2 separate regions of the Homo sapiens genome follow, and region 2 is linked to region 1. The links are contacts of gene promoters, found by promoter capture Hi-C in blood cells and fetal thymus (Javierre and others, 2016). All regions are on one chromosome and are shown on one strand. Each heading gives the region's core, a stretch centred on a gene start or on the middle of the fragment in contact. The rest is flanking DNA. Distances are from core to core; before and after follow the strand shown.

Evidence for each region. The method cuts DNA at HindIII sites, captures the fragments that hold promoters and counts their contacts. A CHiCAGO score of 5 or more calls a contact.
Region 2: a fragment that was not itself captured here is called in contact with the fragment with the promoter of MRTFA in region 1 in 1 of 17 cell types (neutrophils); the score reaches 15.5 in neutrophils.

What each region holds. Positions count from the first base shown.
Region 1 is chr22:40,635,150-40,638,307 of GRCh38, forward strand. MRTFA (myocardin related transcription factor A) reads right to left here and starts at 1,570. Exons shown (of 15, transcript NM_020831.6): 1 at 1,329-1,570. RefSeq lists a silencer at 1,025-1,334 and enhancers at 1,595-1,904, 2,644-3,158. The HindIII fragment of the contact is 6,464 bases long and covers 1-3,158 here.
Region 2 is chr22:39,534,852-39,538,206 of GRCh38, forward strand. No RefSeq gene overlaps it. Among named protein-coding and RNA genes, the nearest start is that of RPS19BP1, 3.8 kb to the left of the region's middle. RefSeq lists silencers at 1-187, 53-102, 163-252. The HindIII fragment of the contact is 4,950 bases long and covers 1-3,355 here.

The DNA.
Region 1 (3,158 bases), core at 320-2,819:
TTAAGCAAAACTTAGTTTAATAACTTCCAGCCAAAGGTTCCCCACCCTGCAGTCATAGGGCTGTGGGCCAGCTGGCTGTACCACCTCACCCCCGGGAGATGACTGCTTTTCAACAGTAAAACTGCGTAAGTGACATTTGGAGTTTTGGGGGTCTTCTGAAGTAAAACATGTAGGTCTAACTTCTTACTGACAATAAGTCTTAACGTTACAGGCTTCGGCTTGATGTAGAAAGGACCCTGAAAAGATCTCAAAAACTTGCAACTCGGGGACATTCCAGACGTCTTATGAGTTTAAAACTATGTAAAAACATACGAAGCATGGGGTAATTCCATTATTATATTTAAGTGATGTATTCCACATTCCTGTATATACACACACTTCATGCCAAACAGAGGCTGGCAAGCAAGTTAACCATTCAACTGCCCTTTCGTTATGCTGCATAACAGGGAGACAACAGAGAGAAATCTTGACAATGCCAAGCTGGGCTAGTGCTTAAAGGCACACAGGCAAACCAGGCATTCTCAACATCCCAAAAGCAAACATTTCTTGGGCCCTTACTATGGGCCAAGCACTGTGTCAAACGCTTCACGTGAATTATTTCATTCGACACTTACAACAAACAACCGTATGCGATTGGTGCTATTATCCTCATTTTTCAGACGAGGAAACCAAGGCACAAGATTACACAGCTAGCAAGTGGCAGGTTTGGGAGTCGACTCAAAAGGTCCAGCCCTAGGCACTATGGAGTATCAAAGGTACCCGAAGCGGGGAGGGTGGACTGCATCAGCGTCCTGACAGACGCTTTCTTAGGAGGTAAAGTTCTTGGCCATCAAGTTTCAGATTTGCAGAGCCCTGTACACCTGGCAGCATTCAGGTTTGCTATACTGGCACCAACAAGTCCAGCTGAGCCTCCTTGCCTGGGAATCCCAAGGACTGCACTTGGATCCTGAAGGTCTGCACAAGACCCCAGAGAAAGCGGCCGACACCCCGTCCCTGCAATCAAAACACATCCCGGGAGAAGCGAGGGCGAGGACCTCCGTGCCTCCCCGCCCCGCGCAGCACAGCCCTGCCAGGCAGTGCACAGGTGCACGACCGCGCCCGCCCGCCCGGCCCGGCCCGGGTCCCAGCCCCGGCACAGTGACCGCCGCTCTGCGACTCCGGCCCCGAGGGCAGGGGCAGAAGGCCGGCAAGAAGAGGGCAGGGGACGCGAGGGCCGCCTCGCCCGACCCCCCGAGGACGCGCGCAGCAGGGTCGGGGGGGAAAAAGGATGCTCCAGGCGGGGCGAGGCCGCGGTGGGGGAGGGGTCCCCAACCCGGACTCTCACTCACCGCCTCGCGCGGCTCCCGGCCGGGTTCCGCGGCTCGCCCCACTCCGGCTCTAGCCGCCCGCGTCTCCTCTCGAGGCTCACTGTCCAGCCCGGGCGCACGGAGCTGAGAAGTCGCCGCCAGCGGAGGGCGTGTGGCCAGCGGCAACCAAGAGGGTGGGAAAGATGGGACCGTCGCTCTCGCCGCCGCGGCCACCACAGACACTGCCGCCGCCGGCTCCTCTCAGCCACGGAAGCTGCGGGCCCGCCCACCACGCCCGCCTCCCGTCCTGAAGACTGTCCGCTGGAGAAGTGACGGCGGCGCTAGCCAATCAGAGGCCTGATCGGGGTCGTGATCGGCGGACTAAAGGGCGGGCGGAGAAGGAAGCGGCATGAAGAAGGCGAAAACGGCGGCCTGACTTCCTGTGACTGACGGCACGGCGCAGCCAATGGGCAACGGGGAGATGACCTCATCTCTGAGGAAAGTCTGGAACTGGCTGAGCTGCGGCGAGGGGGTTGGCGACGAGCCGGGGGCGGAGCTCTGGGCCTTAAAGAGGCCGCAGCCCTGTGGTCACCCTGTGAAGGGAAGGGCGGTGGACCCTGCCGGATCTTGCGAAGTTGCCAAGGGGTCAATGCCCAGGCGCGAGTAATTACTGCATTAATCCCAGACCCCATCCCGATTCTTGTCGGGGACTGAAGGGTCTCCGCCTGGGGCTCCGAAGTCGATCATTTCACATTCACGCTTCCCAAAACGAGACACAATAAATTCCGCTCTGGCCTGGAGCCTTGAATTCCCGTTACGGTCCCGCCCCGCCGAGGCCCGTCGCCTTGTTTCTCTGAGTCAGTTTCCCCAACGGTGAAAGGGAGGACGCTGACACCTGCCTGCCCCTCCCTATCTGCCGAGGCCGTGGAGATCAGCAGCAGCGAAAGCGCTCTGGGCTTAGAAGAGGAAAAGGGCTGCGTGAGCCCAAGAGCTTGCATCGGAAGGCTCCAGGAAGAGCATCTGCAAAAAAGAGGATTCCACGGGATGACCCCCGACAACTCTTGGAATTCTAAAATCCTATACCCTTGCCCGCACCCATTCGTGTAGTGAAGGGGCGCGCGTTAGGCGCAGAGGCCACACGCTCCGCAAGTGAACCCGGGCACCTCTCTGAACCTATTCCGGGCTGAGGGCGGGGAGCGGGTGGCTGCCCGATTTAAAAACATGTATATGTATGTGTATGTGTATGTGTATGTGTATGTGTATGTGTATGTGTATATGTATATGTATATGTATATGTATATGTATATGTATATGTATTATGAGTGAAGTCCATGACTGCAACAGGGAGAAAGGAGAAAGGCGAAAGGGGAGAGAGCAACAAGGTAAGCCAGGCCCACTGTGATGACAGCTGCGGTCATGCAGGCCCTTCGTATCCGCCTTCCTCCCCAGCAATGGGAGAGAGCCCAGAAAAGGAGAAATAACCCCAACTCGATGGGGTGGAAAAGGGGGAAGCGCTTTCCGGAAGGCTTCCGGGATGGGGTCACCAGAGTCAGAGGAAGGAGTAACAGTAGATAGAAGAAGAAGTGGTCAGGGGCGTTCTTCTAGGTTTGGGGCGGACCCGCGTGAAGATGCAAAGACTGAAAAGGGGCGGCTCACTTTACATTCCAAGGTAAATTCTCACTATGACCCCCTTTTCCCCATCAAAGGCTTCTGGGACTGCCCATGGGTGAACTCAGAGGGAGGGTAGGAGAGGGTGCTGCTCTATCCAATGGCGGCAAAAGTCAAAGTGGCCTTGGGTATTCCCAATTACTCACTATAAATCAGCTTCCAATGCCGGTCGCAGAATCTTGGAGTTAGACGGGATCCTCGTGG
Region 2 (3,355 bases), core at 71-2,570, 1.1 Mb before region 1:
CGTCCGCAGCCCAGCCGGGCACGGGCGGGACGGCAGGCCAGGCGCTGCCCCAGCCTCCCGCGGAGTTATCAGCACATCCGCGGGGCCGGGCGCATTTCTGCCAATAGGTGGCGCCGCAGGACAGCTTTCTCACGCGGCGAGACTCCAAGGCCTCAGCTGCGCCCACCCGGGCTAGGTGGGGGTGGGGGTCCGGACGTCCTTCTGCCTCGGCTGGCTCCTTGCAGCCAGCACCGTGTGGCCCCGGCTTCCTGCTGTCCCGCACCCCCTCCCACTCTCACCCTGGCCTGGAGGAGTGGCTGGGGAAGCTGAGGCAGAGCCACCAGGCTGGGCTGCCCAGGGCGGGGGGCGAGGTCCCTTCCTGAAAAGTGTGCAAATGACAGCTGGGAGCTGTGTGACCCCAGCAATCCCTTAACAAAGAGTGCCTCAGTTTCCTCATTGGTTGGATGGGGCTTGGCAGGGCAGCATCCCCCTTCTAGGAGAGGTGTGAGAACCGGTGGATCAATACCGTGCCGTGTGGGCCGGGCCTGGGTGGGTCTGCGCCCAGGGACTGCGTGTAGAGGGTGCTACAGCGCTGCCATGCTACCTGCTCCCTCTGGGCAAGACGGGATGGGCAGGGGCAGCCACTGTTGGGCCCAAGCAGATCACCCCACAGCCCGCATTTGGGCACCTGCGACCTGCCAGTCTTGACGTTGGCCCTGATGGGTCAAGCTGGGGGAGGGGGAGGGGGGTTGGGCAGCTGCTTCCTGTCTCCCTGTGGGAGGGCGGGTCATGAGGTCTCCCAGGCTAGTTCCCCACCTGGCATGACCCTGGATGAGCGGCTTCACTGCTCTGAGCCTGTTTCCACACTGGGTCCCTGCCTGCCCCTGATCCCCGCACTGAGGCTTTTGGCCACACAGAGGAACCATCGCCATAAAGGGCCCTTCGGCCCCCATGCCCTATGTCTCCTCCCAGGCTCCGTGAAACAGCTTAACTACCCTGGGCCTGGGAGGCTGAGAGGCAGGTGGCTTTCTGCAGGGCTGTGCAGCCCTTCAAGAACAGAGTCAGGACTCAAGCCCAGGTCTCCGGGTCCTAAGCAAGAGTATGTGTGTGGCCCCCAGGGACCAGTGGCCCCCTGGAGAGGGGACCGTAGGGTCTCTGGGAGGTGAGCAGTTCTGGAGAGGGTGTCCTGGTGGTCTGGGGCTGGCACAGATGCCCCGGTTTCCACAAGGCCTCGGCTCACACAGCTGTGTGTCCACAGGCAAGCCGCCCTCCCTCCCCTAGCCCATTTCCTCTTCCGAGGTTTTGGGGGCTTTAGAGAGTATTGTCCAGTCCTCCATACAGGGCCGAGGCGGGAGGCGCCCGGAGCTCCTGGCTCCTGTGGTATGAAGGGAGCACTTGCTCCAGAGCCAGGCTGTACATCCTGGCTTTTCCACTTACTAGCTGTGTGACTTTGGGCAAGTCCCACAACCTCTCTGTGCCTCGGTTTCTTCGTTTATGAGTTGACTATGATAATAATCCCTACCTCATAAGGCTGCTGTGAGGATCGAGGGTTGAGCATTTGGAATTCCGTTGGACGCAGAATAAGCACTCTAGTTTGTGAATCAGTGATTGCTCTGTGGACAGCAGTGTGCCGGTGGGACCTGGGCCCCCATCTGTGGGTGTGACCTGCACTTGTATGTCGCCTCTGGATTTCCACACTCTTGTGCTCACACACGGTTAGGTTGGAGGCCACAGGGAGTAACACCTGACAGCCTGGAGTCGCTGATTCCCGTTCAGACGCCGCCTTTGCCGCTTAGCAGATGTGTGACCTGGGCACCTACCTCACCTTTCTGAGCTTCGAGGGGGCGCTTGGGGTCTGTTGGAGGTGCAGTGAGGTGGCATGAAATGTGCTCAGCACCAGGCCTGGCATTTATTCATCTGTGCAGTCAATAAATACCTGCTGATACCACTGACGGAGCAGCCAATAGGAGAAAAACCAGCCAGCATTTGCTGAGCGTGAACCAGGAGCTGCTCCACGTGCAGGAGGCGGGCATTGGGGTGAATGAAGGGCTCCGTTGGGCCTGGCGGTGCCCACATGCTCGTGTTACACTCTCAGCAAGTGTGAGTCTCTGTCGTCCAGGGTCTGCAGGGTTCAGGGTGGCACCCACCAGTCCCAGGGACAGCAGCCCCCTCAGGGCATCCAGGCAGAGGCCAAGTGGCTTCTTTCCAATCATGTGAATGGTGAAATAGTGGCATGCCTGATTTTAAGGGTATAATGAAGACACAGAAGAAGCTACTGGAAATTATCCATGGAGATATGGGGTCAGCCAGTAACCCCCGGGTGGGGGTCAAAGGTGGGGTCTTTTTAATGTCTCCACCCTGACCAGCCAAAGATGCGGCTCTGCCATTAAGCTACTGTGTGAAGTTTTTTTTTTTTGTTTTTTTTTGTTTTTATTTTTTTTTTTTTGGAGAGCAAGTCTTGCTCTGTCCCCCAGGCTGCAGGGCAGTGGCGCGATCTTGGCTCACTACAACCTCCTTCTCCTGGGTTCAAGCGATTCTTCTGTCTCAGCCTCCCGAGTAGCTAGGATTACAGAGGCCCGCCGGTGTGCCTGGCTAATTTTTGTATTTTCAGTCGAGACAGGGTTTCACCATGTTGGCCAGGCTGGTCTCGAACTCCTGACCTTAGGTGATCTGCCTGCCTTGGCCTCCCAAAGTGTTGGGATTGCAGGCATGAGCCACCAGTGCCTGGCCTGCTGTGTGATCTTGGGTACATTCCTCCCAGTCCCTGGAGAAAGATGGGGCGGAGTCCCCAGTCCTGCCAGGTCCCCAGGGCCACTGAGATGTTAAGAGGTTACAGGAAGAGGAAAGGGTGAGCTTGGAAGACTGAGGGGAGAACTTGGGGGCCCCTTAGCAAGCAAGCACCCCTTCCTCAAGCCAACTTGTACCCAAAGACCTTACCAGTAGGTTGGGGTCAGATGGGAGGTCCTTAGGCAGAGCGGATGTCACCTGGCTCTGGGAACTTGACCTCGCTGTAAGATCTAGAATAAGTCCCTCCTCTATTCTGGGCTTTGCTATCCCCATCTGGGCAGTAGGGACAGACATAGCACTTTGTCGCAGAGAAAATATCCCTATAGGGCTTTGGGAGAGGAGGGCGTGGGGAGTGGGTGGTTCTGGGGCCTCAAGATCTCTGTGGTGGGGGTTCTGGCTCCCAAGGGGCTAGAATGGGGTTGGGGAGAGTTCTGTCCCTTCTAATCTCCGTCCTTTAATTCTAATTATGTCTCCATTAAAATGCAAATTTCCAACCAATACCCTTGGAAGGGAGGCCCTGTTGTCATAGCAACTGGCGTCTGTGGGGTGGTTGGGGAGAGGAGCAAGTCTCCATCTTCTGATCCTTCCA